Regions from separate parts of the Homo sapiens genome. Here regions 2, 3, 4, 5, 6 and 7 are each linked to region 1. Evidence: promoter capture Hi-C in 16 types of primary human blood cells and fetal thymus (Javierre and others, 2016). All regions are on one chromosome and are shown on one strand. The core of a region is centred on a gene start or on the middle of the fragment in contact, and the rest is flanking DNA. Distances in the headings are between cores, read along the strand shown.

The links. Contacts are between HindIII fragments. The CHiCAGO score rates a contact against its expected background, and 5 or more counts as called.
Region 2: a contact is called between a fragment that was not itself captured here and the fragment with the promoter of MRPL15 in region 1, in 1 of 17 cell types (activated CD4 T cells). The highest score is 6.1, in activated CD4 T cells.
Region 3: a fragment that was not itself captured here is called in contact with the fragment with the promoter of MRPL15 in region 1 in 2 of 17 cell types (megakaryocytes and endothelial precursors); the score reaches 7.2 in megakaryocytes.
Region 4: a fragment that was not itself captured here is called in contact with the fragment with the promoter of MRPL15 in region 1 in 2 of 17 cell types (naive CD8 T cells and non-activated CD4 T cells); the score reaches 6.3 in naive CD8 T cells.
Region 5: a fragment that was not itself captured here is called in contact with the fragment with the promoter of MRPL15 in region 1 in 3 of 17 cell types (naive CD8 T cells, neutrophils and fetal thymus); the score reaches 6.8 in naive CD8 T cells.
Region 6: a contact is called between a fragment that was not itself captured here and the fragment with the promoter of MRPL15 in region 1, in 4 of 17 cell types (M1 macrophages, M0 macrophages, M2 macrophages and 1 more). The highest score is 7.4, in M1 macrophages.
Region 7: a fragment that was not itself captured here is called in contact with the fragment with the promoter of MRPL15 in region 1 in 13 of 17 cell types (endothelial precursors, megakaryocytes, activated CD4 T cells and 10 more); the score reaches 10.2 in endothelial precursors.

The regions. Positions count from the first base shown.
Region 1 is chr8:54,133,787-54,136,896 of GRCh38, reverse strand. MRPL15 (mitochondrial ribosomal protein L15) reads right to left here and starts at 1,656. Exons shown (of 5, transcript NM_014175.4): 1 at 1,506-1,656; 2 at 232-386. The coding sequence starts at 1,613. The HindIII fragment of the contact is 13,913 bases long and covers 1-3,110 here.
Region 2 is chr8:53,717,758-53,720,867 of GRCh38, reverse strand. The region is part of intron 13 of ATP6V1H (ATPase H+ transporting V1 subunit H); the gene reads left to right. Among named protein-coding and RNA genes, the nearest start is that of ATP6V1H, 120 kb to the left of the region's middle. The HindIII fragment of the contact is 653 bases long and covers 1,214-1,866 here.
Region 3 is chr8:54,465,071-54,468,180 of GRCh38, reverse strand. It overlaps LOC100129098, which reads left to right. Exons shown (of 2, transcript XM_041680557.1): 2 at 639-2,587. The coding sequence ends at 1,393. Among named protein-coding and RNA genes, the nearest start is that of SOX17, 8.7 kb to the right of the region's middle. The HindIII fragment of the contact is 2,492 bases long and covers 171-2,662 here.
Region 4 is chr8:53,809,002-53,812,111 of GRCh38, reverse strand. It overlaps ATP6V1H (ATPase H+ transporting V1 subunit H), which reads left to right. Exons shown (of 14, transcript NM_015941.4): 7 at 895-948. Among named protein-coding and RNA genes, the nearest start is that of ATP6V1H, 33 kb to the left of the region's middle. The HindIII fragment of the contact is 1,924 bases long and covers 517-2,440 here.
Region 5 is chr8:53,825,961-53,829,070 of GRCh38, reverse strand. The region is part of intron 4 of ATP6V1H (ATPase H+ transporting V1 subunit H); the gene reads left to right. Among named protein-coding and RNA genes, the nearest start is that of ATP6V1H, 16 kb to the left of the region's middle. The HindIII fragment of the contact is 3,324 bases long and covers 1-3,110 here.
Region 6 is chr8:54,436,798-54,439,907 of GRCh38, reverse strand. All of the region lies in intron 1 of LOC105375841 (a long non-coding RNA gene), which reads left to right. Among named protein-coding and RNA genes, the nearest start is that of SOX17, 20 kb to the left of the region's middle. The HindIII fragment of the contact is 4,847 bases long and covers 1-3,110 here.
Region 7 is chr8:53,850,849-53,853,958 of GRCh38, reverse strand. It overlaps a transcript of RGS20 not described here. Among named protein-coding and RNA genes, the nearest start is that of ATP6V1H, 9.2 kb to the right of the region's middle. The HindIII fragment of the contact is 819 bases long and covers 997-1,815 here.

The sequences.
Region 1 (3,110 bases), core at 407-2,906:
AGAGCTGGCATTAGAATCTCCATTTTGCAGGTCTAAGTGCAGTGTCTGGGCCTCTTTTCCTTTTAATAATCCAGGCAAGATTTCATTACCAAAAAATGGTTCAGGGGAACAGTAGCAAAAGTTTGCTTCAAAGTGAATTTACAATTTCCACCAAAATTTCTACCAAACTATTTTTAGGTGCTTTTTAATGGAAATTGGGGACCTGTACTTTAAAAAGCAAAGCAACCTTACCTATGTCCTTCGTTAAACCCGTATTTTGGGATTCGGATGTAAAATGGAGTCTGGCCTCCCTCAAAGCCCAAGCGGGGCCGGGTTCCTCTTTGCCTTTCTCCTTTATGGCCTCTGCCACATTTTCTACCTCTTCTCCGACCTCTTGGTCTTCTCTCCTGCAAGGAAAAAAAAGAATTTTATGAATTTCAGATGCATTTCTAAAAACTGCATTTCAGCTCTTCACTTTTTGTTATGCTGTTCATTCATCCAGCCCACCAGTGCTAGCTAACACTATTGTGTCAAGCATGTCCTAGTTGCTCAAAGCTCCACACACTCTGTTAGCATCTTTGCCTCTAAAGACATAGCTAATTCTTGTAACCAAAGTCCAAGTGTGTTTCAAAAGCAAAAAGTAAAGGTTAGGATGGGGATAAGGTTTTTATAATAGGTTGAAACCGAAAAAAATCCTAGAATTAAATATTCACAACATTTTAAATGATAGGCAAGAATTTATTCTGAAATTAATTGTAAATATGCAAATGTTATTCATAAACCTGTAATTTTATTTGAAAACTGATCTGTTGAAGAAAATCTTTTCCTTAATTTCCTGTCATTTCACGAAAGCAATGAACTGACTGTTAAAATGACAGTACATTGTCAACTAACAGCTTTTCTAGCTCTATTTAGTCAACTGCAGAAGGGACAGCTGCAATTCAGATCTTTCCAATGAACATAAAGATACACCGGGAAAACATTTCATTTTAAATCCAATTTTGAATGACACAAAGACTTTGTAGTTTCAGCGAGTCGGCTTCTCCGCCTGGTATCTTTACACTTGTAAACATAACCTTATTAAGAACTGGGTGCGGCCGGGGGCGGTGGCTCACGCCTGTAATCCCAGCACTTTGGGAGGCCGAGGCAGGCGGATCGCGAGCTCAGGAGTTCAAAACCAGCCTGGCCAACACGGTGAAACCACGTCTCTACTAAAAATACAAAAATTAGCCGGGCGTGATGGCGGGCGCCTGTAATCCCAGCTAATCGGGAGGCTGAGGCAGGAGAATTGCTTCTGGGCGACAGAGCAAGCCTCCGTCTCGGAAAAAAAAAAAAAAAAAAAAAAAAGAACTGGGTGCACGTGGAAAGATTCCCCTCTGGGCAGTAAGGGAGAACAGGCATGAGGCAATCCTATTTTCATCCCAACACTCTCCTAGAAAGGGCAGTTCTCCTAATGACAGGGAGAGAAGGGCCGCTTTCATCGCCCGGGTCCCCAGCGCTTCCCCGCACCGCCACCACCCATTTACCGGTTTCTTGGAGCCGGGATTCGGCTTTAAGTTGGCCAGGCTCACACGCGGCAGGCCCCGGAGTAGGTCCAGGGCCCGGGCCCCACCGCCCTGCAAGGGACCGGCCATAACCCGCAGATCCAAGAACTTTCAAGGGCGCCCTGAGCTGCTCGGAGGCCACGTGGTCTCGGGGGCTGCTTTGTGGCCGTGGCCCCGCCCCTGTCGCGCTGCAGCCGCGCGCGCAAGCCCGGGAGTCGGGCAGAGGCGTGGGAGTCTGCAACCTTGTCTCGGTTGTCCTTTTAGTTGTTTGGGGATGTGATCTTATTTTCCGAGATCCTGCTTTGTCCTCGGGGTCCCTTTTAATATTCTGAACGTAAAACCTTCTCTTTCGCCAAACGAGAGCATGCACTAAAAACACTGCGTTAAATAAAGGATCTTTTTTGAGTCAGTGTTGGGCCTTGCCTGTTTGTCTAGGCCGTGTCTTCTCTGAGGTCAATGCAGAACCCAGAGTAAAGCAAAGTGAGCTGTCAATTATTAGCTTTTGAGCTTGCGTAATTATACACCGTGAGGTACGAAAATAAAACTGAGTGCACCTATCAAAATGCCTGGCTAATAACCAATCTTTGAATAAGACTCAAAGTGTGAACTCTCATCCGTGTGCATCTGTATTGTTTTGAGTGAATCGCAGTTAGTAACCACCTATTGTTAATGACTGGCGCCATACTGAATGCCTGGTGTATGCCAGACGCTGTATTAAATAAGCCTTACTCGATTTACAGCCATTCTAGAGGTAAATGGTGTTACTACATTTTACAGTTACAACAGGGAAGGCTTAGCAAGGTCCGATAGCTTGACCAACTTCTTGCAACAAGCGGCAGAGCCAGGATTCAAACGTACACTGCTTCCTACTATAAAAGTAGTATTTTTAGAATGTAAAATTGAGTATCTGCATCACAAAATACGAACATTATTACTCGAAAAATACCAGCTCTTCTTTTTTCTCTCAAGTGACTTAAATATAGAAAAGACTGTTCCTTTCTTTTTCTTTCTTTTAGTAGTGGTTTGACATTTCACTTGCTGGGGAGTTTTTTCTGCTAGCTCTAACTAGTAATCACAAATAATGAAGGTGAGACAATTTTTGGAGGGCGTCTGTCTCTAGGTATAACTGCGTCTTTTTAAAGTTCCTTTAAATCAAGTGTAAAATAACTACATAAAGAAAAAGTTGTATTCATTCCTTCAAGTACTATTTATAAGTAAGACACTGAACTTGTTGGAAATACACATGGATGAACTCAAATAGGATTTCATTCCCAAGTTGTTTGAAATCTAGTAGGGAACAGTTTCCAAAAGTGAATTATTATTATTATTATTTTGAGACAGAGTCTCGCTCTGTTGCTTAGGCTAGAGTGCAATGGTTCAATCTCAGCTCACTGCAACCTCTGCCTCTCTGGTTCAAGCAATTCTTCCGCCTCCGCCTCCTGAGTAGCTGGGATTACAGGCGTTCACCAGCACGCCCCGCTAATTTTTTTTTGTATGTTTAGTAGAGACGGGTTTTCGCCATGTTGGCCAGGCTGGTCTCCAACTCCTGGCCTCAGGTGATCCCCCTGCCTCGGCCTCCCAAAGTGC
Region 2 (3,110 bases), core at 291-2,790, 420 kb after region 1:
GACTAGAGAAAACAGTACAAAAATGCTGCTAACAGTGGGTTTTCTACTTGGCTTTGTGGACAGGCAAGGCCAAAAAAGGAAAATAAAAGAGACTTAGTAGTTTTCATTGATTAATATATTTGTCAGTAGAAAATCACTTTTTTCCTATCACTAAGTTACACAGCTGAAGTTACCATGTGTCAAGTTATATAGGTAAAGTTAGCATGTTGAAACACTATTATAGTCAGTGTCTTCAATTATAGTTTTAAAGAAACATTTGTAATGTTTGAGTCTTTAAGCAACTAAATACACTGTGAAGGTAAGGCATTTGATTAGAATGGGTAATGGTCTTCCTGTTGTTTGAAGAGTTACTATAGCTAAGTAAGTGCTTCCTGGTGCCCTAGCTCCTAGCAGAATAGAAGCTAGATAGTCAGTCACCTTCAGAATGCCCCTGTCAAGCCTCAGGCACCTTGTGCCTTGTGGGAAGTGGAAGTCAGTTTTTCAGTGTTTCTTCATCAGATGTAAACTCTTTTGCAGCAGTATGATCTCTTTTGTGAGCCGTTTATGTACTTGGGTTTTTAAAAAGGGGAGTAGGTTTTCAGACTGCCCTTTTTTCAGTTTCAGAGATGTTGAGATCCCAGGAGATTTCAGGTGTGGATGAAGTTAAAGAGAAGAAAAATATTGCACCTCACAAATTTTGCATCTTAGGTGGCAGAAGCAAAGATTTAATGTCACATTCCTATAGATTGCTTGTATAAGTCAGGCACCTTTTGACTGAATTATAAGTTGAAATTTTATTGTATTGATCTTCATGTATTGAGGATGACTCAATACCCAGATTAATTCACAAAAGATCTCCTTGCATCCTTTGTTCTAGATATATTATTATCCCCTGAGGTAAAATCTATACTAGTTTTTGCTTTTGCCTGACAGTAGTGTAATTTTAACCTGAAGAAATTTTTCACACCCACTTGTTGTTTTCTAATTTATGAAAAAGGAAGTGTCTGCCTTCTGCACCTTTCTGAGCTCTTACTGGAAGCCAGGCAGCTCTGGAATAGAATAGGACCAGAGCCCTGAGTAGGCGCTTTGCTCACTTAGCTCTTGGGCAAGTTAATGAAGTTTTCTGAGGCCCTGTTTCCTCTTTTGTAAAAGGGAGAAGATATTAATAATACCCAGCTCACAGGGTGCTCTAAAATGAGAGGGGAGAATGTGTGGGCATACCTGTGATAAAGCTTCCATGGTGGCTCGGAACGCGGTCCAGATGGCAACAGCCATCCTGTGTTCCCAGCTTCAGGCCCTCGATGGCAGGACCCCCTGTGCCTGGCACAGAGGATTCAGAGGCAGGCTTGTGTCCCCCAGTCTTGGGAATGTTTTCATTGACTACATAATGTCATTCGACATTCAGGGGAGCAAGCTATAGTATTTTATAAGCTGGCCAGGTGCAGTGATCCTAGCACTTTGGGAGGCCAAGGCAGGCAGATCACGAGGTCAGGAGTTCGAGACCAGCCTGGCCAACATGGCAGAACCCCATCTCTACTGAAAATACAAAAATTAGCCGAGCGTGGTGGTGCGTGCCTGTAATCCCAGCTACTCGGGGGGCCAAGGCAGGAGAATCACTTGAATCTGGGAGGTGGAGATTGCAGTGAGCTGAGATCACACCATTGCACTCCAGCCTGGGCAATAAAGTGAGACTCAGTCTCTAAAAAAATAAAAATAGAATAAAATACATAAAAGCCAAGTTCGAAGGAGTGGATTTTCCCCAAAGTTCGTATAGGTTAGGTGTTTTTAATACCCTTTTCAGTGGAGCCACAGTTCAGTTCCTCCTGGTATGTTAGAAAGCCATCTAACACCCCACATGCCATAACAAACAACAATTTCAAGAAAGCTTGAGGAGGAAATTGTATTCTTCTTTCCATGAATCCTGTCTGGGCTCTTCTCTTGCTGGGCTTTTGGCATTTTGACCTACAATACTCAAACCAGGCTCACAAAGTTCCACCTGGGGCCCCTGATGTGCAGGTTCTTAGTTGGACCCTTTTTCATCTATATGAGTCCTTGTTCTTCCCCCAAATCCAAATTACATGAACTGTCAACTAGGCAGAAGAAAGGAGGTGCTGATTTTTCTATGTGTCACGTACTTAGGTCAGGAAGAAGTAGATGCCTCCGGGCTACCTTGTATGTACGAATAAACGAGAGTGAGCCTGGCCGGGTATGGTGGCTCACGCCTGTAACCCCAGCACTTTAGGGGCTGAGGCAGGCATATCACTAAAGCCCAGGAGTTAGCGTCCAGCCTGGACAACATGACGAAACCCTGTCTGTACAAAATATACAAAAATTAGCCAGGCATGGTGGTGAGCACCTGTAGTTCCAGCTTCTCAAGAGGCTGGGGTGGGAGGATGGCTTGAACCCAGGGAGGTCAAGGCTGCAGTGAGCTGTGACTGCACCACTGCACTCCAGCCTGGGCAATGGAGCAAAACCCTGTCTCAAAAAAAAAAAAAAAAAAAAAATTGTGTAGGAGAGGATGTTACCTGTAATTTATATCTTTGACCAGGAAGAAAAAAATGAATGGAAGATGGTAGGGTGGAAGCTGTGGCTGCATGTGTCTTTACGTTCTCTGCTGGAACAGCGCACCTGTGCTAGGTTTTACTGTCCTACTTTGGCCCCACTTCAAGAGTGTTTCTTTTGTGAAGAAATCAATTATCTTCACCACTTGTTGTCTGCTAAGTATTAGTGAAGTCTGATATGGGGAATGAACTACCCTCAGGCCTCTGGAAGGGATGGAGCAGGTGGGAGCCTGTCTGTGACCAGACGCACAGGACCCTTTGTGATAACTTACCAGTTCCCTGCCTGAGCTCCTGGAGGCTTTCCCATACATTCTTATTAGTCATTTTTGGAAACTTACATTTAGAAGTTGGTCCTTGACATTGGTGCTTTAGGGAGAGAACCACGTCTTACTGTCATTGGAGAGTGGCACAGTGTCTTTGAGTACACTTTTAAAATGTTTTCTAAGGCTCCACACTAAAGAGTCTAAAATTGAAATATTTGAAGACCTCCTTAAAATGAAGCATATCTAACTTCAGGCTTGATTTCTCACATATATGTAGGAAAAATATATTTATAAGTTCTGGAAATTT
Region 3 (3,110 bases), core at 167-2,666, 330 kb before region 1:
AAGGATACCCTGTCAAAAAATAAACAAACAGAAAAGCCGCTCCCTATTAACTTCAAAAGACTCTGGAAAATTAACTCGATGTGTGCACAGGTAGAGGCCATCCTCTCCCAAACTTCAGCAACAAACTAGAGCTCTAGATTGCAACCTGGCTAGCTTGAAATTCTAAAGCTTTAGGCGTTTTCCTGAAAGGCTGTTAAATGTATTTCTAGCTCCATGTGTGGCGAGCAGTTAGAATCTGTAATAACTCAGCACCCATCTCTCAATTCCTTACTCAATAAATGAACAAGGAATACAACTTTTTTTTCTTTTAACTTGGAATAGGGGCATACTTTTTAACTTGGAATAGAGCTGTTTCGTTTTTGCAGAACCTGGCCTAATTAGGCGGCACATTAAAACCTTTCTCCCAAGACTGCAAAATTTTGTGTTATCGTTTATACCTGGAGATAATTAACAATTTGGTTTTGAACTTTTTATTTAATGTCATCTCCAGCTCCCAAGACGAGTCTGCAATTGCCGGTCAAGTCTCCCTAAAGGGAAACACTAAATATGAGAATCGCTAAACACGAAAGAGTTTTCGGAGGTAGAGCCACCGACCGGTTCTTGAGGATGTTCGCCAAGCCCGGCGTCTCCCCGCGCAGAAGCCCAGCCCTCCCACGTCCGGGGTTCCCGGCGCCCGGGTTCCCCGCGCTCCGCCTCCCCCGGCGTCGGGCGCAGCTGGGCGTCAAGCTGGGCGGGGGTCCCTCGCCAGCCTCTGGCGCTCGACCTTCGCCCCACCTGGAAGGCGCCGGATGCGAGACTCGCCCTTGGCTCGGCCCGCGGCCCCGGCCGGCGCCTCGCCCTTCACCTTCAAGTCCCCGAGGGAGCTCGGCAACTCGGCCCAAGGACAGGGGCCCAGCCTAGCCGTCACCGCCGGCAGCGCGCTCCGGGTCTGGCTCTGGTAGTCACTGGCGTATCCCGCATCCGGCCTGCTCACGGCGCTCCAGGCCTGCCCCGCGCGCCGAAACCCTCCGCCGGACGCGGAGGAAAAGAAGGTGGTGAGCGAGGCACGGAGATGCTCCGACGGCTGCGCGGGTCTCCGAGGCCGAACCGCCACCCGCGTTCCGGGCCAGTCCCAGCCCACGGCGTGGCCAGCGCTGCCGCCGGTCCAGCGACACTGCGGGCGCCCCCGGGCCGCGGGGCCTCTTCTGAGACCATGTGGCCCACAGAGAATCTAAGCTCCCGCCGCCGGGCTCCACCTCAACGGCGGAGAACTCGGGCGCCGAGCATCGCCCGATCCCTACCCGGCAGCGGACGGCTACAGGGTTTGATTTTCCCCTCCACAGGAAAGAACGTGCAGAGGCACAAATCCCCTCCTCTTCCCTCAGAGGAAAGCCTGTCCCAGCGGTCCCGCTGAGAACTTCCGAAGCCTTGGCGCGGCAGGCAGGCCCCTGAGCCGGTGCACCGCGAAGTTGCATTCTCACCTTCGAGTCACCGTGGCTTAGGCCGAGTAAACGAGCACTTCATCTAGCGCCGGGCGGGCCCCGGCACCAAGCTAAGAGCTCAAAACTCCTCGAAGCGGGCGCGCGACGTCGCGGTCCGAGCTCTCCTCGCCGCACTCCCCCATCAGACCTAAGATCTTTTACCTTTTAAATTAAAGTGAATCCAGATCCTTGTTAATGCGGCCTAATGTAGCAGCGGGAAGAGTGTAGGTCCCTGGCGAGGGGAGCGCGCTCCGGTGACCTCTAGCGCCTCAGACGCCCGCGCAGGAGGAACTCCCGCAGCCCGCCCGGGACCCGAGGGCAGGAGGGTGCGGGGAACGGGGCTGCCACTGCGCCTAAGCCTTTCCCCTTTTATAGGCTTTAGGGAAACAAATCCTCTTTTCCTAGTGGATGTAAGAAGTGAGTGAATTTAAAGTCACAGCCACGGCGGTAAGCGGCCCCAATTGTCTGGGATTCATAATGCTGTTAATATACACACGTATATGTAACAGCACTTTGCAGGTATACATACATATATATTATATGTATTTTTTTTCATATGACGTTTGCATCAATATTCTGCGTGCTGTCCCTCCCCCACCCCAACCCCAATCTGTTTTTAAAAATCCACCTCCGCAGAAGAGGAGAGGAGTGCTTCAGGGAAGGGTGGAGGCATCCATGTCCTCACCTTTCCCAGTGAGGAATCGAGACTTCCCGCCTTCGCGATGGAACTAGAAAAGGGTATGTAGTCCTGGACTTTAAAAGACAATTAACAGAAGTGGAAATAAGGATGTAACTATATTCCGAGGAAGAGCGGGCAGGAAATTCTTAGCTGTCGTAGCAGAAAGTAAATGTCTAAAACTCATAAGCCTAAAATTAGCCATGCAGGTACATTAATTAATTAACCACTAGACAAGCAGAATTATTAATGTAGGTAATGCCCAGTAGGGGGAAGAAAAAAGGAATTGATTCTGACCTGTGGCACTGGGGCTGGGGAGAGATGGAAACTTCTGACAACTCTGTTTATATTACAAGCCCGTCTGCAATGTTGTTTGAGTTGTTGTAAGCGTGTGCATCATTTACATTTTTAAAATTATTTTTAAATGAATAAAACAATAATGTTTTCTATATCCACAGTCTCGTTATTGAAACTACAAACCTAAATTTTTATTTTCTATTTTTCCTTCCTGTTATCTCAGTAAGCTTTTTCAGGTCAATATTCTTGGTGCGCATGTGTGCACCTCTGATCCTTACTATTGTATTCAAACGTCCAAACAAATATTTATTTTAAAAAGCAGAAAAATCCACTATATAGGGGGCAGCTATAAAATTGCTCCTTCCATTTTGCTGGTGTCTACTAATTTTCTTCTATCAGTCCGTCCATATCCATCAGTTCACAGAAATAACTTCTGAGGACTGAGGGATTTAAAAGCCTGCGGATCGCGTTTCAGTATTACCTGGAACTACTGGAAGCCAGAATCTTTTCTTAATTTGCCTTTTTCCCCATTACACTCTGCTTATTCCTCCTCAAGAATTCAGACCCTGTTCAGTTCTCAAAAAGTAAACGGTATGGAAATCGATTCAGGACTTCAGAAACCATACTGGTGGGAGGAGGGGCTAACAGAAAGATAAATGTTGGCAAACTTGATATCG
Region 4 (3,110 bases), core at 229-2,728, 320 kb after region 1:
ATTCAGACTCTTCGTTTTAAAAAGTAACAATTATTTGTGATATTACTTGCTACTTTGCTCAATTGTCATGCGATAGTGCTACATCTAGAGTGTCTCTTTTTTCTCTGTCACAAGTGTTTTTCTCTCTCACAAAAAGTACCACAATTTCATGATTCTAATAGAAATAAACTTTCAAAAGTCCAAGTTAGCTGCAAGTTTAGATGTTTTGTTCTTTGACCTTATAGTGGCCTTTGAAGCCTTTTTGGGTAGTTTGGAGCGTTGCACTTGGGTTGTGGGGACTCATGCCTGTACTTCATAGATAGTAGTTATTGAATGATACAAAGTTAACATTTCCTTTCAGAAATTCATTATTGCTTTTCTCTTGCACTTTCAGCCTCTGACTTTCTTTAAATTTTCTTTGGTCATTTCTATATGACATTTGAGATTTTGATTGTCATTATAATTCATTAGCTTTGCTGTGGATAACCAAGTCACATATTGTACCTTCCTGACATCAGGCACCTATTTTTGAAAGCTTTGCTACAGAATATAGTGTGGATAGTTCAATTTAAGGCAGTCATTTTACTGGAAAAACAATTCAGTAAGTAAATCTTAAGACTTGGAAATTTGCACTAGCTTTACCCATGAAATTTACCTGGAGCTTAGTAGTCAGTTTATTATTGTTCCATTTTTAGCTACTTACTGATTAATATATTATCTGGAAGAATGTAACGATATTTAGAACATTTTATGTCATCCCCTTGCTTTTTATTTAGTAGGATTAGGAATAAAATTATAGGGGAAAAATTATTACATAGAATTAGGGGAAAAGTTTGCTTAGCTCCCTTTTGTAAGCTGATACATTAGGATAAAATCAAAACAAAACTAAATAATGAGTTATTTATTTCGTAATAGAAACTGCGTGGTAGCGGTGTTGCTGTTGAAACAGGAACAGTCTCTTCAAGTGATGTAAGTATATTCCTTCACTGGCCTAAACATCCCCAAAATAAATTATTTTGAGTCATATACACTTAAAATTTTGAAGGTGTTTACTAGTTCCCCAACTATAAATCCATGGTCACCTCCAGTTAGGTTAATTGTATTATAAACTATATATAAATATTGATGGTCTGTGGAGATCATCTTTTCTGTGGTAGACATAAGACTTGTTCTTTCCCGTTGCTCTTTTTTCCAGGTGACTTTTGTTTCAGACCTGAGAAACAAAGCAAAAATCAGAATTCAGAAGCACAACTGGAGCAAATAATCATAAAGTTTTCTCTTTAAACTTCAGTTATCTGATTAAACTGTCTAATATCTGTCTAATCAAAAGGTGAACAAAAGCGTCAAACATTTGAAAGAAATTCAGTTACTTTTATTTATTTATTTATTTTTTGAGACACAGTCTAGCTCTATCCCCCAGGCTGGAGTGCAGTGGCACAATCTCAGCTCACTGCAACCTCTGCCTCCCAGGTTCAATTAATTCTCCTGCCTCAGCCTCCCGAGTAGCTGGGACTACAAGCGCCCGCCACCACACCCAGCTAATTTTTGTATTTTTAGTAGAGATGAGGTTTCACCAAGTTGGCCAGAATGGTGTCGATCTCTTGACCTCGTGATCCGCCTGCCTTGGCCTCCCAAAGTGCTGGGATTACAGGCATGAGCCACCACGCCAGGCCTTCTTTCCACATTTTTGTAGAGCCAAAAGGCTCTACATAAATACATAAATAATCTACATAATTAAGATTAATTATGGCTCCCCAAGTTCCTTTCTTGGCTAAAGTTACGTTTTCCATTTGGGAATGGCTGAACTTTGCTGTGCTCTAGGAATAGCTCAGGAACTGGAAGTAAGTTTGGACAAGTTAACGATGTTCATGATGAGAGCCAGTTGATAGAAAGTTAGGGAAAACGGAGACAGAAACAGAAGTGTGTCTAGCTTCCTTTGTTGAAAGTATCACTAGGAAACTAGGAAGTATCTTTAGAGGGTAGTTTCTGTAACCTGCCTGCAATAGACCCAAGTGAAGCTCTGTAGGAGCCATTTAATATCCATATTGGTTGCTGGTACTCCCATAATCTGAATGAATGTCACGGGTATGTATGTTCCAAGACCATAGATGGCAGCAAAATCCATTTTGAAGCTGGGCTTCTCTTGGAGCATGGGTTGAAGTGTTTGATGACTCATATGTTAGGCCAGAAAATGGCTATTAGCCTTCTGAAGTGGAATCAGAACAAGGTATAGAACTAGATACGCGATCCTGGGGCCATGGTGGGCTGAGGAAATGGTAGGTAAGAAGCCTCGTTTCTCAATCAGAAGCAGATGTTTACATTGAGAATCTTTATTTTGCTTAAATTGAGAGTCTTCATTTCATGTGTCTTGAATTTCTACCAGTTTGAAAAATTATTTAGCTTATTTTAGACTTACAAACTTATTTAAGTGGTTGTCAAAGTATTTTAAGTTATTAAAGCTTAAATAAGGAAATGCAAACTCTGCTGACATGACATCCTTATTTTGCTATTTTCTGTGCAGTGTATTAGAAAAACAAAATTAACTGAATTGGTGGTGTGTTGGTCTAAGTGATTTACCTGGTAGATTCATATACATCCCAAATGGAATTCACATCAGGAGTGATTGTGAGTTAGGAAAAGATGGCCTTTGGTTTCCTACCTTCTTCCCTTTAGTGACTCTCAACCCTGAACATATTTTTGGACTCTTCCTGAAGTTCTTACTTTTTTAGATGGCTGTCTACTTGAAAAGCAGACCTCCATGTGTTGAGAGTAGGGTGTCAGCCCTTCCTTTGATTCTTATATTTCCATAGGGGAATCTTAATATAGCAGCTAATATTCATTGAGCACTTAACTATGTGCCTGACGCTTACTCATTTTACATTTACATCTCCTTGAATATTTACACTCCCTGTTCAATGTAGGTCATATCATTAGCCGCATTTTATGGATGAGTAGTGAGACCAAACAGAAAAACATACCAACATGCCCGAGGTCACACAGAGACTCTGAAGAAATGGATTGCTTAGAGAATTACTTGTGAGGCAGCTGAGTTGGAATTGCATCTTTAGGCATTCCTCAAGTTGCATTGCTTACTCAGACTTTTTAAGGTATCAGTATCACATCTTTAAATC
Region 5 (3,110 bases), core at 313-2,812, 310 kb after region 1:
AGGCCAGTGCCGGGCCCTGGAGGTTCGGTGCTTTTGTTCCTTTTGGGAACAGTTTTGCTTATCATCGAAAACGTTTCCAGTTGCATACAGTTTCTGTTTACTGCGTTACCATCCCTGAACCCAATTATGAATAAAGGAGAGGCCTCCTTTATTCATATTTATGTATTTTACACTAGAGTATAATCTAGGCTTAGATGGTTGGTATGTAGAGCAGTTCTTATGAGATCGGCCTTCCAGCTGCTGAGTGTCTCAGGAGACTTGAAGGAAAGAGTCAGTCTGGGTGTTTAGGGAGGGTTGTTCTATTAACTTATAAGGAAAAAAACATTTATTGATGGCCTAATTTTCACCAAGCACTGTACTATTATTGATAATACAAAGGTTGGGCAGAATGGTGCTGTCTTCCTAGGGGTCATCATGTCCTTTATAGGAATCTAGTGATTTTATAATGTGAGGAAGGATCAATATCAGGACTGTCTTGAGAATGACCTCAGTCTCTCTGAGCACTTTTTCATGTAAAACAGTAAAGTTTAGAAAAATGTGAATGTTATGATCTGCCATGGTTATCTTGTTACTGTATGGGACTGTACCTAGAATGAGGGAGCTGTGAGTCGGCATGCGGACCGTGGTTGCTCATATCCTTAATTACTGTCCATATGCTCATATCTATAAATTAACACCATGACATGCTGGTAGCTCCCATTACATTTCAGCGCAGCACCACAGGGTTCTTTGTCTCTCCTTTCCGTATGTGTACCTCTTCTGTAACAGTGAGATTGTGAGTTCCTCTTATCCTCAGTGTGTTTACTTGTTTGTTCTACCCTAAAATACACAGAAAATAGTTTCAGAGTTGTGGACCCATACAACTCAATTATCGAGGAAAGCAGTGTGGTGATTCTTCAAAGAGCTAAAAACAGAACTACCATTTGACCCAGCAATCCCATTGTTGGGTAGATACTCAAAGGAATAGAAATCGTCCTACTGTAAAGACCACACACACGTGTTTGTTCGTTGCAGCGCCATTCACATTAGCAAAGACATGGAATCAATCTAAATGCCCATCAATGGCAGATTGGATAAAGAAAACGTACATATACTCCATGGAATACTATACGGCCATAAAACAGAATGAGAGCATGTCCTTTGCAGGAACATGGATGGAGCTGGAGGTCTTTATCCTTAGTAAACTAACACAGGAACTGAACACCAAATACCACATGTTTTCAATTATAAGTGGGAGCTAAATGATGAGAACACATGGACACAAAGAGGGGAACTGCAGAAGCTGGGGTCTACTCAAGGGTGGAGGGTGGGGGGAGAGAGAGGATCAGAAAAAAATAACTATTGGGTACTAGGCTTAGTACCTGGATTATGAAATAATCTGTACAACATACCCCCTTGACATGAGTTTACCAATATAACACACCGGCACATGTACCCCTGAACCTAAAATACGAGTTGAAAAAAACACATACACACAAAAAACAAGTCTTTTACCTGGAGTTCAGTATTTGTTTGCAGTTTTTTGTTTTAAACTCAGGGTATATAGTCAGAATACTGTGTTCAAGTTTCAGAGTGATTATTTTTCATGAAATACTGTAAGAGTCATTTGTTTCTGTTGTATTCTATTTTAGTTTTTTCCTCATCCTTGTGCATTTCATTATTATTATTTTTATTTTATTTATTTTTTTGAGACAGGATCTTGCTCTGTTACCCATGCTGGAGTGTAGTGGCGTGATCTCGGCTCGCTGCAACCTCTGCCCCCTGGGTTCAAGTGATTCTCCTGCCTCAGCCTCCCGAGAAACTGGGATTACAGGTGCCTGTCACCATGCCTGGCTAATTTTTGTGTTTTTAGTAGAGACGAGGTTTCACCATGTTGGCCAGGCTGGTCTCAAAACTCCTGACCTTAGGTGATCTGCCCACCTCGGCCTCCCAAAGTGCTGGGATTACAGGAGTGAGCCACCATGCCCAGCCTGCATTTTATTTTTGAGTATGTAAAACATTAACATGTTTCCAAAAGTCAAAACTATGCAGAAAGGTATACTCAGAGAAATGTCACTAATCCTAGCCCATTCCCACCTCCCTCTCGTAGGTGACCAATATCATAGTTTTTTTTTTTTTTGAGACAGAATTCCGTTCTGTCCTCCAGGCTGGAGTGCAGTGGTGCAACCCCCGCTCACCGCAACCTCTGCCTCCTGGGTTCAAGCAATTCTCCTGCCTCTGCCTCCAGAGTAACTGGGATACAGGCACCCGGCATCATTCCTGGCTAATTTTTATATTTTTTTTTTTAGTAGAGACGGGGTTTTACCATGTTGGCGAAGGTGGTCTTGAACTCCTGACCTTAAGTGATCTGCCTGCCTCGGCCTCCCAAAGTGCTGGGATTACAAGTGTGAGCCACTGCGCTCAGCCCAATATCATTGGTTTTTAATTTTTTTTTTCTGTGAACATAGACAGGCAGACACATGTATATTTTTTTATTTCCCCCTCTTATTTCTATAAAACACTTATTAGATATAATCTCTTATTTTTTGCTTGTTTCACTTAACAGAATATGCCAGAAATCATTACGTGTCAGTTCATAGAGATCTCATCTCCCTGTTCTGTTTTTGACAGCTACATGGTACCCCATTAGTGGATGTACCATAGTTCACTCAGCCTCTGATGTAATGATGGACATTGTGGTTGGTTCCAAATTTTAGAATTAGAAATCATGAAGCAAAGAATAACCTTGTGCAAATATATTTTTGTGTTGTTGGGTGTATATTTCATGGTAAATTCTTAGAAATGGGATTGCTGGATAAGAGGTAACTCCATATGTAGTTTTTTTTGTTAAGATATTGCCAGACATTCCATTTTGCATTTTCATCAGCAGGGTGTGAGTGCCTGGTTCCCTGTAACCTTCTCAACAGAGGGCATTGTCAAGCTGTTACATTTTTGCCTATCAGAATGGTGTCCGAGGTTGAACATCTTTAGATGACCTTAAAGGTTGCTTTTACATTTTTTTCCCTGAATTATTTGCTCATGTCTTTGCCCATTTTAAGGAGTTCTTTATATATTAGGCATATATCTCTGAACAAAGTGCAAATATTTTCTCCCAGTTTGTTATTTACCTT
Region 6 (3,110 bases), core at 376-2,875, 300 kb before region 1:
TATAACCTATTGCTCCTGGCTGCCTAGCATGTTACTGTACTGAATACTGTAGGCAATTATAATGTAGTATTACATGCACAAATGTATTTGTGTAACTATGCATATCTAAACACAGGAAAAATACTGTAAAAATATGGCATTATCATCTTATGGGGCTGCAGTCATATATGAAGTCTGTCGTTGACTAAAGGTTCCTGTGGTACACGACTGTATGACTGTATGGTTAATAATGCCAGGCACATATGGAAATTCAATCTGCCTACATCAACTACACATCTACCAGTGGATTTTCATAGCCCTGAGTTCCATGTCATTTTCAGAATGTTCCAAATGACAATCCAAATTATTTATAAGCATTTGCAGACCACTCTTTTATAAATATAACCATTTTGAATGTTTTATTGCTATAACAACAGACATTAAAAACCTTTAGAAACATGATTAACAATACCATGAATCTAGATAAGGGATAAATGGAGGTTTTCCGTACAATGTTTTTTAGCCACTCTTTTGTAAATTTGAAAAGATTCCCAAATTTTAAAAAATTATTTAAACACGAAACCTTAAAAACATTATGCTAACTGAAAGAAGCCCATCACAAAGGACCACAAATTGCCTGATTCCATTTATATGAAATGTTCAAAATAGGCAAATCTGTAGACTTATGAGTTGCTTAGGGCTAAAGGATAAAAAAAAGCGTTGAGGGGTGATGGCTAAAAGGTGTGTGGTTCTTTTTGGGGTGATGAAAATGTTATAAACTTGATTATGGTGATGATTACACAAGTCTGAATATACCAAGAAATCAGTGAACTGTACACGTTAGATGAGGAAATTGGTATCTAAATTATATCTTAATAAAGCAGTTATTTCAAAAATTAAAAGTCAGAAACAATCAAAAGACATAGATATTAAAAGTCTTGTTTGAAATTGAAAACTGGTTGAAAGGTGCAGCCACTTTACATAGCACCAGTCAAGATTCTTTCTTTCCCCTCCCCTCCCGGACGAAGCACATTCCACATTCCCAGTAAATGGATTCTCTCCTCCTCCAGGGTGGGTAGTAGAAAAATGTTCTAGCACATAAATGAATCAATTTATGAGTAGTCAGGATAATGTTAACATCTGACAAGTTTGATTTTAACCTTTATCTGTAATTTTGTGTCTTATGTTCAACGTGAATTCATAGATATTTCTGGAAGAGCTTTTGCCTAAGACATTGTACAAATCAATTCAGAATTCTGAATGGCATGCTTCCTTTCTTCCCATCTTCCTGCCTGGAATGGGTAACATGAGTTTTCACTCTCTCTTTCTCAGTTTTATTAAAATTAAATGGCAATGAAGGTTTGTGCAGGAATATTGATGAACTTAGAGAGATAAGTTTACCTTAAGTTACCCAAGTTAAAAATGACATTCAGGTAATCACACGGATGGAAGAAAATCCACTTAACATACAACCCTTGTTTCCCTGATTATGTATGGGCTAGTATTTTTTATCAACTTTCCACTCCCTTGTTCATTTTGGGAGTTAGTGAAGTATTCCAGATGAATTTAGCTTCATGTTCCACTATATTGAGTAAGGGTGGGATTGGATGAACCTGAAAAATATTTGTGTAGGAGGAAATTTTTATCAGTAGTCAATATTCCACCTTTTTACATAAGAAATGAAACAATTTTGCAAATGGATTTAAAAGGCACATAGCCATGTTCTGTGTGAAAATGTTTTCTTCTGGTGCCTGTGGACTCTGACACAGAGAATAGTTATTTCTCTGCAAATTGAGCTTTATACTAACCAGATTGTTTTTATTTAACCATGAGTGTCTGTGACAATATGACAAAACATGCAAATCGCTAGAGAGTTCTGCTTGGGTCCAAGAACATATCACTTCAGCATGGATCAAGACAGCAAAGTGCAGGTGATGTGGCATCATTACCACGCAGAGGGTTAGCAAATGATTTTACCAACTGCAGTTTAAACATCTTATTTGTCCTTCCTTCCTCAAAGGGGAAACATGTTTTCTAAAATTGATTGTGGTCGTTTTTCTGTTTGGAAACATTTGCTAGAAGAGAAAATAGGAGTTCTAATGTTAAATGATTAACCAAGGGCTTATTATTCAGTTTTTAAATTTATGAAGATTTTTTTTCTACCAAAACAAAGTGTATTATAGTCAGAATGAATAACTTTTACTCATTTCAGGGTATTTTATTACCCTATATTTTGAAGAAGTTAGTCATTTTTATTTGGGACCAGAAAAAAGAGTCAGCCTTTTTTTTTTTTTTTTTTTTTTTTTTTTTGAGACGGAGTCTCACTCTGTCGCCCGGGCTGGAGTGCAGTGGCGCAATCTCCTCTCACTGCAACCTCCGCCTCCCGGATTCAAGTGATTCTCCTGCCTCAGCCTCCCAAGTAGCTGGGATTACAGGTGCCCGCCTCCACGCCCAGCTAATTTTTGTATTTTTAGTAGAGACGGGGCTTCACCATCTTGGCCAGGCTGGTCTCGACTCCTGACATCAGGTCATCTGCCCGCCTCGGCCTGTCAAAGTGGTGGGATTATAGGCGTGAGCCACTGCGCCTGGTCAGAATCAGACTTTTTGATAGCCAAATGGATGATTTACCTGTGCCCACTTTAACCTCCTTCTGATATTCCCGTAGGAATGGAATTCTCTACTTCTGTAGAACCAGATAATTCCTAATATAAAACATGAAAACATTGTGAATAAATTTTAAGATCCAAAGAAAGACAGGCTTATTTTGTGGTTCCCAAACAAGAAACAAAACCAACAAAAAACAACAACAAATTTGAATTTAAAATTGTGTGTCTGCTATTGTAATTATTCACATGTGCTTATAAACACACTCTGCATTTCTGATTTCCCTGGATTACCCTATTTATATAGAACTAAAATTGCAGCTTGGGCAGCATGCCACTCTCATGGCATAGCAAATTAGACTTGGATATCCCAGAAAGTGGAAGAAGGTTTAATAATTATAATTCATAGCAAATTAGACTTGGATATCCCAGAAAGTGGGAGAAGGTTTAATAATTATTGTTTTGTATAGTATTCTAATTTTTCATATATTTTTTAAAGTTTACACAATTTCAGAAGACATAGCTTCT
Region 7 (3,110 bases), core at 157-2,656, 280 kb after region 1:
CTTAGACATTATTTCACGTCTACCTTAGATTTCACTGCTTTCACTCTAACACTGGGCTTCTTCAATTGTCTTACCCCATAGTGATCATATTCCTCCCCTAATATCTTACTGATTGAAAGAATATACAATAATTATGTAGGTATCTTATGTTATTGACATGAGTCATGCTGATAATATGCTATATGTTTGTCTTTCTCAATACACAGTAAGTCTCTAGAAAGGAGGGAGCATATCTTGCTCTTTCTCTTTATTCCCTATGGCTCCTAGCCCAAGGTTTTGCAGTTAGTAAGGATTCAATGGTATCTGCAGACTCAAAATGAGTTGAGTGTTTCCATCCTTACATTTGCTAGATGAGGCACATGTCTCCTCTTTCTGTATTCAAATGCAATATAAAAAGATTTTTTCAAAAGGCAAAAACTGAGTGAAGGAGCCAGTAGCATCCCAACTGGATTGCTTCCTTCTACCCTCACCTGCTGCTGTACAGACTGGAACCTGTTAACAGGTTAGTGAGGTTAGGATAGAAGTTAGGCTGCCCAGCACCAGCATGTGTGGTCGATTCCAGGATGCCATGGGAAGGTGTAATACTGATTCTTAAATATTTTTGCATTTTATTTGTCTTTGATTCCACTTAGAGCATACCTTCTCAAGATAGTTAGAACTTTGAAATTATATATATGTGTGTGTGGGTGCATATACATACACACATATACAACAGCATACATATGCACCATACAATGGGTATATTTGTTGTTGTTGCTCTCTGTTTCCTCAAAGTAGCCTCCACATTCTGCCTTTTAGAAATATCTTTTGCATGTGTCGCCTACATTAAGATGTCCATTAATTCAGGACTCTTGGACACTACATCCCATTTCATTGCAGCTTGCTAAACTCTTAGTGCTTAGATGATAATAGGCGGTGTGGGAATTCATGTGTTATTTGTTCACATATGTCTGAAAGCTCAAAAGAACAGGTCCGTATATTTTTACAGAAAAAGCTTTGTGTTGACCCTTTTTATTTTTTTTTTCCCCTCCACTTGTGCCAAATGGTTAAAATAACATTAGGAGAAAGGGCAGACCTAGAGAATTTTGTAAAGAATTTGCAAATAAATAATGATATCAGGATATGAGCCGCGGCAAAAGAACAGGTGAATTTTCTGGTGTTAAAGTATTTGAACAGTTTTATAGTTTTGCAGCATTTAATTTTGAGTGTGCTCATTGCTTGTTAGACATTAACACATGTCCATATTCTATGCCAAGTAACCTTTTATGAGATGGTTCTATTAATAGCTAAGAGGATTTACAGACTCAAACTGTATTTTTTTCAAATATACACACAACATCCAGCAGGAAAATTGTCACTTTTTGGAGAAATAATGTTATTACCTACTGATAGAAACTCATGCTTAGGAAATTCACCTTTGGAAACTTTGAATTTGGAAAAAACACCCCTCAGCTCCTTAATGTTCTTATGTTCTTAGTTTATCAATTTTTTCCCAAGGAATTTTTTGTAGAAAGCGGTCTATAATTTTTCTTTCATTATTATATGGGATGTAATATTTATATCGGAGAAAGATATCCTAGGGCTAACACTAATAGCCACAAAATCTGTCTAGATTTGTTGAATGTTATCACCTGAAACAAGCAAACAAACAAAAAAGCAATACATAATAATTTATTTTGGTAAAGGGAATCTGTTTAGATTGGAGAAAACTAGATAGATCAGGTAATTATCATCTAGGTTCTAGATTTCCCTTGGGGATGGTTTGAAAACATTTTTGATAAAACATTAAGATAAGTGAGCAATGGCACTAAAGCTTGAGTATAGTTTTATATTCTTTCTGGGTAAACACTTTCCCTTGACGGGAAAGGATCATGGATTGTGGAAATCACCTTACCTTGATATCAGGAACAGCCCTGAGGTCTCCTTCATTTTCTGTGATTTGGTGAATGTCTGTATTATATCTCTGAGCCCTGAACAGGGGCAGAAACTGTGTCCATATAGACGGCCTGGAGAAATGTTTCTGGAGGCACTCTTGGTTATCTTGGGAAAGCTGGGGCATGTTTTCACAATAAAGGCCCCAAATGAGTCCTGTTGCCTGGTTTTCCCAATATTAGCACAGGATCCACTCTGCTTCTCTTTGTTTGGTTAATGCTGGGCTGGCTCTGAATCTGTGGGGAGACTTCTCCAAAAGTTATACTAATGAAAGCAAAAGGATTACCTGCTTTGTGGATCAGCAGCTTATCCACAGATCTTTCATGTTCTATTCCTGGTAGAGCTGCTTATTTTGAATGTCTAGGTACTGTATGTTATGAGTGCCCTCTAAAGGCAGAAATGTATTCTTAATTAAAATGTAATCCTAAATCAAAATGGAAAGAAATGATCCAAGTGATATACAGCTTAGCATATAGTGATAAATTAAATAGATTGTTTGGCAAAAATTCTTGTGTTAGTGGTGTGTGATAGCCAATAGTACTTGACAATCTTGGGCTATGCAATTGACAGGCAGATGGTTGGCTTAATCTTTCCAGGTTTCTTAAAAGGTCATCTTAATAGCAGTCATCTTTGTAGCTAGTAACATATGCAAAACTCATACCCAAACTTAAACTCAAGAATTATTATTCTTTTTACATACATCATGTGGAGTAAGTTAAATTGATTTTCTTATGAGATGACTAGGTACCCAATGAGTAAGCCAAGAATTGGCTTCTAACACTATACTTCATATTTATAAACTGCTTTATAAATATAAGATTATTAAACAGAGTGGAAAAGGTAGAATACCTTTCTGTCAAGAGGCAACTAATGCCCAATAGCTTCTGTTGGGTTTGAGGGTGCACAAAGGTAAGGGATGTGTATTACTGGGGTCTATGAACTGGAAAAGTTTCCTTTTGTAAAATTGCTTTACAGATTCAACACAATGGCTATCATATGTCAGCTCCTTTCTTTTGCAGGAGTTGATAGTTGATTCTAAAATTCATATAAAATTATAAGGGGCCGGGTGCAGTGGCTCACGCCTGTAATCCCAGCACTTTGGGAGGCTGAGGTGGGTGAATCGTGAGGTCAGGAGTTCGAGACCAGCCTGACCAACATGGTGAAACCCTGTCTCTACT